2 separate regions of the Homo sapiens genome follow, and region 2 is linked to region 1. The links are contacts of gene promoters, found by promoter capture Hi-C in human tissues and cell types (Jung and others, 2019). All regions are on one chromosome and are shown on one strand. The core of a region is centred on a gene start or on the middle of the fragment in contact, and the rest is flanking DNA. Distances in the headings are between cores, read along the strand shown.

Region 1 (4,730 bases), core at 1,233-3,732:
TGTGGGGCTGAAAGTGGGGTTTCCTTTAGAAAAACTCCTATAAGATGGGGCTTCAATATTTCCGGGAAGCCGCATTCTCCATAGAAGCTCTTGGTAAGGGGAGCTACTGGTAGTATAGCGGCACGGAGGGGATTACCCTATACTAGGGGGTCCTTCTATAAGCCTTTCTAATGGAGGGTCCTGCCTTGTGGCTCTTTGGCTTCAATATCTGCTTGGCGGTTCCCTTTCTATTTCCCTTTCCTTTCCTTTCTGATGACTCCTGCAGTGTAAGACTGCCACCTCTTTAGGTTTCTGTACAGCCAATGATAATCTTCTAATGGCTTCCTGATATTTGATAGGTGTTCCCTCAGAAGTTAGGAATTCTCTTTCTCTCCATATTGCTGCGTGGGCATGGAGGACTAGGTAAGCATACTTAGAGTCTGTATAGATATTTACCTTTTTTTCTTCTCCTAATTCTAGTGTATAATGGCCCCTGTTTTTGCTAGAATGTCTCTCCCTAACAAGGGAATGGGGCTTTCAGGCATAATTAGAAAGGTATGTGAAAATGGTAAAGTTCCCTAGTCACAACTTAGTGTCTGGGAGAAGTATCTAGTGACTGCCTGTCCTAGGACCCCTCGGATAGTGACAGATCTGGAGGACAGTTGTCTGGGACAGGAGAGTAAGACTGAGAAGGCCGCGCTAGTGTCCAGCAGACAGTTAACCTCCTGGCCCTCAGTGGTCAAGCATACCTGGGGAGGGTGATGCCAGGGGCTGGCGCTTGCCCCAGGCACCCTCAGTCCTGCTGCTGGATCATCTGGTTAGTGGCTTCTGACTCAGAGGACCTTCATCCCCTGGGGCAGTGGGCCTTCCAGTGATACCCTTGAAATAAGGGGCATGGATGAGGGGGTGGCTTATTTCTATTCGGACAATCTTTTTTAAAGTGTCCTTGTAGACCGCACTGGAATCAAATCCCTATTAGGCATTCGATTTGCCCAGCCTTTCACTTTTCCAGAGCCTCCAAAGTCCACTTGCCTGAAGGCCATGACTAAAGCGGTGGCCTTCTTTTTATCCCGTTTGTCCAGTTCTGCCTGCTCCTTCTGATCTCTATTATAAAAACTGAGGCCAAGTTCTTAGTTTAAGTTTTGTTCCAGGCCTAAGGCGGATTTTGAAGTTTTTTTCTAATGTCTGCAGCTGAGTGATAAACTTACCCTTTAAGATTAGTTGGCCTTCAATAGATCCAGATGACAGAGAGGTATGCTTCCTCAATGCCTCCCTTAGTCTCTCCAGAAAGGCAGTAGGATTTTCTTCCTTTCCCTGTGTTATAGTGGGCATCATTGAATAATTCATAGGCTTCTTCCTAGTTTTTCTTAGTCCTTCTAGCATGCAAGTTAGCAAATGTCTGCGGCACCAATCTCCACATTCTGATTCTGCGTCCCATTGAGGGTCTACACTGGGAACTGCCTGCTGGCCTGTGGGGAATCGTTCTCTTTCCTCTGTTGTCATCCTATCATTGACCTGACTGAGATACCAGAGATTGCCAAACTCTTGGGCTGCAGTTATAGCGGCACTTCTCTCATTTGGGGTTAGTATCTGATCTAGCAGTAACATTATGTCTCTCCATGTCAGATCAAAGGATTGTCCTAACCCTTGTAAAACATCAATATAGCCATCAGGGTTATTTGAGAATTTACCTAGGTCTATTTTAATTTGCTTCAAGTCTGAGAGGGAAAAAGGTACACACACTCTGGGCTGAATTCTCCTCCTCCCACCACTTCAAGGGGGCATAATCTGGGAATATTGGCACTCTTTGGTTCATTGTTTACCCCTTTCTCTATCTCCTTTGGCACCGTTTGTGTTGAAGGGGGGTCATTATTAGTTGGGGAAGGAGCCGGGGGAACGCCGGGGCAGGGGGGTAGATTCTGAGGGCTTCCTGTAGGGCATAAATCACACTTTTAACATAATTGTGAGTTGTCTCTTAATGAAAAGAAAGTTTGCACATATGGCACTTCGCTCCATTTGCCCTATTTTCTACAAAAGAAGTCTAGCTGTAAGATGGTGTTATAATTTATACTTCCCTTGGAGGGCATGTTTCTCCCTCTTGAAGAGGATATTGTGGCCAGGGGTACTGCAGAAGAATATAAGTCGTTTCTTTCTTAGCATCTGAGGGTCAAATTGGTCCTAATTCTCTAGAATACATCTTAGGGGCGTTTTTGCCTGGGAGGGGGGAACGTTTAAAAAGAACATAGGGATGCCAGCACCCCTAGTCATTTTCTGATGAGCATTAGTCCTAGAGCGTCCTCTGTGGTCCTAATGCTTATTCCTTTTCAGGGTGCGTAACCACCCACGGACCTCTGCTTATCAGATTAGTTACACTCACCGATGTAGCAGTCCTGCACCTGTTTTCCTGCCCTTCTTGACCACAAAGAAAGGGGTCTGGGCTGCTGGATTCTAGTGGTCCTTTACCAGCGTGCCTGACATTGCCTTTGCACTCAGGAGTGAGTTCTAGAGCTGGGCTGGGTTTCTGAGTATTTCATAACAACCCAGTTGCCCCATCAAGATGCATTTTCATAAACAACAGTTCTTATGCAAATTCGTTTCAGAGAGGGTGTAGGTAACCTTTTGAGTCAGGATTGAGATAGAGTTTTTGCCCACTAGGGCCTTTGTCCTTTTCCTTTGTAGGAATATGCCTTAATTATCGAACTTAAGATTTTGTTGCCCTGGATTAAGTCCTTTTGGGTACGAAATATGAGAGATGGCTCCTGTTTATCCTATGTGCCTTTTTCCTACGAGAAGGAGAGCGAGGAGAAAAAGATGGGCTTGCTCTTTTTGTAAGTACTTTAAGGCTTGGCTGAGTGCAAACAGCTCGCAGTTTGTGCAGACCAATTATGAGGCAATTCTCCTAACTCTGCTTCCACAAGAGTTTCCTTATCAATTACTGAATACCCATTGTGGTTTTTTCCTCAATCGCCTGGGAGGAACCATCTATCGTCCTATCCTAAAGGAAGTTCCTCCTAGGTCTGGTTGGACCTTTGCATGGCAATTAAGATTTAAATCCCCTGTTAGGAAATCTGCTGGGTTAAGGGAATTATCAGTGGTTGGTGTTAAATCACCTTTTTCTAACAGAATAGCCCCATACTTTAAGAATTTTGAGCTAGTAAGCTACCTTTTTTTTTTTTTTTTTTTGGTCTTAGGATTGTTCTGAACTGGTGAGGTGTGCTCACAATGAGGTTTCCTCTAAAGGTTATTTTTCTACTTTATTCTGTTAGCAAAGCAGTTGCCACTACAGATTGAATGCATTTGGGCCATCCACGGGTTACTGGGTTCAGGATTTTTGATAGGAAGGCTATGGGTTGTCAGTGGTCTCAGTGTTTTCGGGCTACGCCCTTGTTTACACTGACAACAAGGTAGTATTGGAGTATTATAGGGTCGTGGAGAAGACCTTTAATTATCAATTATAGGTTCTAAATTTACCTTGGCTTTTAAAGGAATAGGGTACACTGTTTTTTCTTTACTACCTCTCTCTTTCCCTTTTTTCTTTCTTTCTCTCTTTGACTTTCTGCCTCTTCCTCTCTCTGTCTGTCTTTTTTTAGATGGATTTTGGAAACGCAGTGGAAGGACGTTCACTTGTTGCCCCAGTTTGCCACTATAGGAACATGTGCCTCCCTTTAATTTACTCAAATTCGTTTTCATCCTGATCTATTATGTTGTTGTAGACTCAGTTCCAGTTGTTAAAATACTGGGTTATCAGTTCTAAGGGCCTGGCCAAGGAGCCAAGGCTTGGAGATTGTATTGCAGGGGGTAGTAAACTGGGTAGAAATTAGGGGAGGAGAGCATCTTACACAATGGGAGAGCGATCTTCCTAGCTATTTACAAACTTGGGGCCCTGGCAAGGGTGGTGGGGAATGGGTCCCACATAACAGCCCATGTTGACAGCTATATACCTAAATTGGGAGGGACACCAGGGGCAAGACTCCCTGGGTTCATAGCCTAGATATCTAAGGCCACAGCATAGAGCTTCCTTAGATCTCTTTGGAGATACAACTTGCTCTAATACTTGGGAGAGGAAATGAAAGTCTGAAGCATTAGTACCTAGGAGGCAGGGATTGGAGGAAGTAGATTCAGAGGTAAGGAGAATTTTTGGGGCTACACTTTCAAGAAAGTCATGGTCGGGACCCAGGAGGTATGGGTCAGAAGGAAAGGTAGGGGTGCACACGTGGGCAACTGTTGAGTAGAGACTTCTGGCTGCACCATGATCTCAACCAGCCAATGCCGGGAGTTCAGGACGACAGCTTTCTGCCTCTAGTCGGCCCTCGGCTTCCCCCCAGGAAATTGTGAAAGCGGAAGCTGGTTCCAGGCAGACCAACGCTCCTAACCCCAAAGGGTTGGGGGTTGTTAGAAAGCCTTTTCCCAGAAAGCCTCACAGCTGAGTCTTAAGTCCAGTGGCCATGCTAATCATTTTTAACTGGCTGACAGGTGCCCGGTATTTCCTCTGATTCTAAGGAAGGATAGGACAGGATAGCAAGCTAAAGTGGTTCAATATTACTCACCACTTTGGAGAATACCTGTACGGGCCAACAGCTGTTACCAGGCAGGTCTTTGTTCTTAGAGCTCCTGAGATGGTGGCAGGCCGCTCCCAAGATGGCGGCAAGCCTTTTGTTCTCTGACCTGGGGTTCTTGGCCTCACGGATTCCAAGGAATGGAAACTTGGGACATGCAGTGAGTGTTATAGCTCTATTAGAAGCCGTCGGTCA
Region 2 (4,486 bases), core at 521-3,020, 63 kb after region 1:
AAAATCCAGAAAATTCAACAAATGCTGAAGTTAATGTCTTATTTCATAGAATTCCAAAGGCTACATGATGAAATACAGGCCTCCACCAAATTGGTGGTGAGATCAGAAATCTACAAGATCCGGGACCCTCAGAAAAGTAATACTCCTTGTAGGTAAACTGAGGGAAAATCTATTCGTTAGAGAAGGATGAACAGCTACCTCCCTCAGCTTCAGAGATGGGTGAAATCAAGACAGAGAAACAATTATCTTCAGAGAATTCCTAACCATAACCAAAGTCACATTTGGGGTTTATATCAGTCAAGGTCCCAGGATGATAAAGATGACACATACAAATTAAGGTAATTTGAGGAAGGTTTAATAAAGGAACTATTATAATTTGGGGCACAGTTTTTTTCTTTTTAAGTAGATGAATTGGCTCTCCAGTCTGTGGCTCTCCCATCCCATCCCTCCCCACAGACCTCATCTGACGGCTATTGCCCTTTGGTAAGATAGTGCCTTCTGGTTATAACAGCCTAGGCTGCTACAGCCATTCAGAGCTCTCTGACCCAAAGATTCCCATCTGCTCCCACGCCCCTGCTGCTGAGCAACATCACCTAGACACAAAGGTCCCCACTCCCATCTCCTCTCCAAGTGTTCCCTTGCTCTCCTCCCCTTCTGGATGGTGGCTCCTGCACCTCAAGCCTCTAGACAGTCTCATGCTATGAGGAACTTCCCTCTCACACAACCCTACTCAAGCCCCACTCAGTAAAGTTTGCTGCCTCCCATGGTCGCATCTTTTTCTTTGATCAGCTCCCAGATCCCTCAAACCCCTACAGATCTGTATCCCAAATATATAAAGAGCTCTCAAAACTCAATAAGAGGCCAGGTGTGGTGGCTCATGCCTGTAATCCCAGCACTTTGAGAGACCGAGGTTGGCGTATCACCTGAAATCAGGAGTTCAAGGCCAGCCTGGCCAACATGGTGAAACCCAGTATCTACTAAAAATACCAAAATTAGCCGGGCATGGTGGCAGGCGCCTGTAATCCCAGCTACTCGGGAGGTTGAGGCAGGAGAATCGCTTGAACCCAGAAGGCGGAGACTGCAGTGACCTGAGATTGCGCCATCGCACTCCAGCCTGGGCCACAAGAGCGAAACTCTGTATCAGAAAAAAAGGGAGATAAAATAATTCAAATAAGTTTATATAATACCATTACCAAAATGCTGCTTTCAGGAGAATTAATATTTTCCTTTGTGATTGTTGGAAATCTCACATTTGAAAGATTAGCAATACCTCAGATTATTTTGGCATAAACTTAAAAAGGAGAAAAAAATGAAATATTTAGAAACCATAATTTGAAAAGCAGCAAAATATGTTAATCTGGAAACTAATATATTTTCCTGGGTTACGAGTAAGTGCTTTTTTTTTTTTTTTTGAGATGGAGTTTCGCTCTTGTTGCCCAGGCTGGAGTGCAATGGCACGATCTTGGCTCACCGCAACCTCCGCCTCCTGGGTTCAAGCAATTCTCCTGCCTCAGCCTCCCGAGTAGCTGGGATTACAGGCATGCACCACCACGCCTGGCTAATTGTATTTTTAGTAGAGACGGGGTTTCTCCATGTTGAGGCTGGTCTCGAACTCCTGACCTCAGGTGATCCTCCCGCCTCGGCCTCCCGAAGTGTTGGGATTACAGGCGTGAGCCACCGTGCCCAGCCACAAGTAAATACTTTATCCCCTCATAGAAGCACACGGTTTTACTGCAATTCAGTAGCTTCTCCTTTTTTTCTTGAGACAGGGTCTCACTCTGTCACCCAAGCTGGAGTGCAGTGGTGCAAACACATCTCATTGTAGCTTCAACCTCCTGAGCTCAAGCAATCCTCCTGCCTCAGCCTCCCAAAGTGCTGGGATTACAGGCGTGTGCCACCACCCTGCCCTCAATAATTTCTTTTTCTTCGAGACAGGGTCTCACTCTGTCACCCAAGCTGGAGTGCAGTGGTGCAATCTTGACTCACTGCAGCCTCAACCTCCCAGGCTCATGTGATCCTCCCACCTCAGCCTCCTGAGTAACTGGGATTACAGGTATGCACCAACACCCCTGGCTAATTTTTGTTTTTTTTTTTGTAGAGACAGGGTTTTGCCATGCTTCCCAGGCTGGTCTCGAACTCCTGGGCTCAAGAAATTATCCCACCACAGCCTCTCAAAGTGCTGGGATTACAGGCATGTGCCACTGTGCCTGGCCCCTCAATAATTTCTTAAAGGAAATTACCACATGAGAATTTACACAATGGACACTGAACATCATTCAAACAGGAAATGTAGACTTTAAGGCAGGAAGTATTATTAGAAATAAAAACGAATTTTTTATGACAAAAAGATCAAAACAGAGATAATAAAATTTAAAATATATATGCATGCCTTGCTTCAAATATAGGATCCAAAAGTTGACAGAGTTAAAAGGAGAAATGGGCACAGCCATGGGAGGTGTGAGAAGGGAGCCAGTGGGAAAGCAAAAGACTGAAGAACAAGGAGACTGGGGTGGGGAGTAAGAAGCAAAGAAGGACCTGGGCTTGGCTGGTCCTCCAAGGGACCCAGGGACCCGGTCCAATCATGGACTGAGGACATGGGCTCAGGAGGTGGACTGAGGCCCCCGGAGAGAGCGGCAGGGTGGGAGGTGTAACCTGCACAGCATGGAGCAGTGGGAGCCTGGGGTTCCATCTGGAGACATGGGTTCTAGTCCCACTTGCTGTGTTTTTGGGGCATGTCACTCCATCTCCCTGGGTTCAGCCTCCCCAGGGAAGGACACTCTCTCCACCCTTCCCCAGCCTGGCCCTCACAAACGATGATGCCAAAGCAGTATCCTTCATGTGTGGGGTTAGCGATAGGGCCGCTGGCCAGAGAGAAGATAGAGGCAGGGCCTCTGGCATTGTGTGGAGCCTGGATCTTGCTCTGCAGTCTGGGAGAACCCTGGGCATGGGAGGAAGAGCCAAGAAACCTCTCAGGCTGGATGACAGCCTCTGGGGGCTCACACCGTCCTCTACCCTAGGAGAGGCCAGGGCAAGGTGTGCACCCTGCTGCTGTGCACCTTCTCCTTGTCCTCCTCTGAGGCCTCAGGCAGTCGCCCAGTTGGGTCACTCTTCACCAGGGTTAGGCCTGGCACCTTGGCATGGAGGGCCAGCTCTTGCCCACAGGCTCTAGAGGCCCTGAGGGTCACCAGGGCCCTTCCCCCTCCCGTGACAGCTTGCACAGGATGCTGTCTTTGGAAAGGTGGTTAGGGACTCACACCTTACAGAAGAGGAACCAGAAGCTTGGAAAAGATGACTGTTCCTAGGTGGTCAGTGCCAGGGCCTGGCCAAAGCCCACTTCTCAAGCTCCAAGTCCATGGGGTGTTCCACCAGAACATCATTCCCCATTGAGCAGAGCCTCTGCCTGTCCCCAATGCTACACACACACTTCAAACATATACATCAAACACACAGACACACACACACACAGAGTTCTGCTGCCTCCACTCCAGTCAGCAACCTGGGCTGGGCGCAGGCGCGAGGGTTTGTCTCTGCGTGGGGGCTTGGGAGTGCCCCACACACATTTCTTTGGGTGTAGAGAACCAGGCGTCCTGCCCCTCCCCCAGCTCCGGATGGGTCTGTGCCTGGCCCTGCTGACTTCTGCCCTGAGATGAAGCTGTAGACACAGCCTGTAGTGTGGAGTCTTCCTTGGGTCCCTATTTGCACACCCAGCATCCCACCCAACCTGGAGATAAGGTGAAGAGGCCCAGTCAGCCCCCAAAATTTGGTGTTTCCAAGGTCCTTCAGGTGGACAGTGCAGCACCGCCCAAGGAGCACTAGGGCATGGAGTGCGGTGGAAAATTCTGCAAGCCAGGGGGCTGGAAACCAAGTACTGCTATGGCCGTGACCTTGTGGCCTTGAATGACAAAGCACCTGCTAGGTGCCTCCCAGGACAGCAGGTCCTCAGGCCAGAGGCAGTTTTCTGCCCACTTCTTCACCACTCAGCAGTCCAGAGGCTGCCCTGCCATTCAGGCTCCCCTGCCCTCTGGCTTTCAGGTGGCTTGGCCAACGGGACGGGCTGGCAGGAGTCTGGGCAGTGGGGAGGAACAAGAGGCCAGGGTAATTATTCCCCCAGCATCCTCCCTCTGAAGCTTCCACCTTTAGCCACAGCCCCACTGGTCCTGATGACTACTCTGTCCCTACCCCTAGAGCCCAGGACTGGTAACAGCTGTGCTTCACCATCCCTTATTGGCTTCCCAGAGCCTGCAGCTCTGTAAGTAGTCCCCTCATTAAACTCTCTTCCAGCTGCATCTTTCCTGGTACATGCTGTCAGTTTCCTGCCAGGAGCTGGACTGATCCAGCACTTGATAAATGTTTCTTCATTAAATCCTGCCAGGTGCCAGCTTGGGATCCAACCCCATGACACAGAGTGGCTCCTGCCACATGCCAGAATGTCCCTGCCCTTCTCTCCAGAGGCCCAGTCAGTGAGAGGAGGAGGAACTAGAATCCA

Evidence for each region. The method cuts DNA at HindIII sites, captures the fragments that hold promoters and counts their contacts. A contact is called where the count stands out against the background at its distance.
Region 2: a contact is called between a fragment that was not itself captured here and the fragment with the promoter of SPINK8 in region 1, in 1 of the 25 tissues and cell types used here (IMR-90 fibroblasts).

What each region holds. Positions count from the first base shown.
Region 1 is chr3:48,331,179-48,335,908 of GRCh38, forward strand. It overlaps SPINK8 (serine peptidase inhibitor Kazal type 8 (putative)), which reads right to left and starts at 2,483. Exons shown (of 8, transcript NM_001080525.3): 1 at 2,357-2,483; 2 at 1,188-1,293. RefSeq lists a silencer at 2,828-3,028. The HindIII fragment of the contact is 10,965 bases long and covers 1-4,730 here.
Region 2 is chr3:48,395,330-48,399,815 of GRCh38, forward strand. No RefSeq gene overlaps it. Among named protein-coding and RNA genes, the nearest start is that of FBXW12, 25 kb to the left of the region's middle. The HindIII fragment of the contact is 3,860 bases long and covers 1-3,700 here.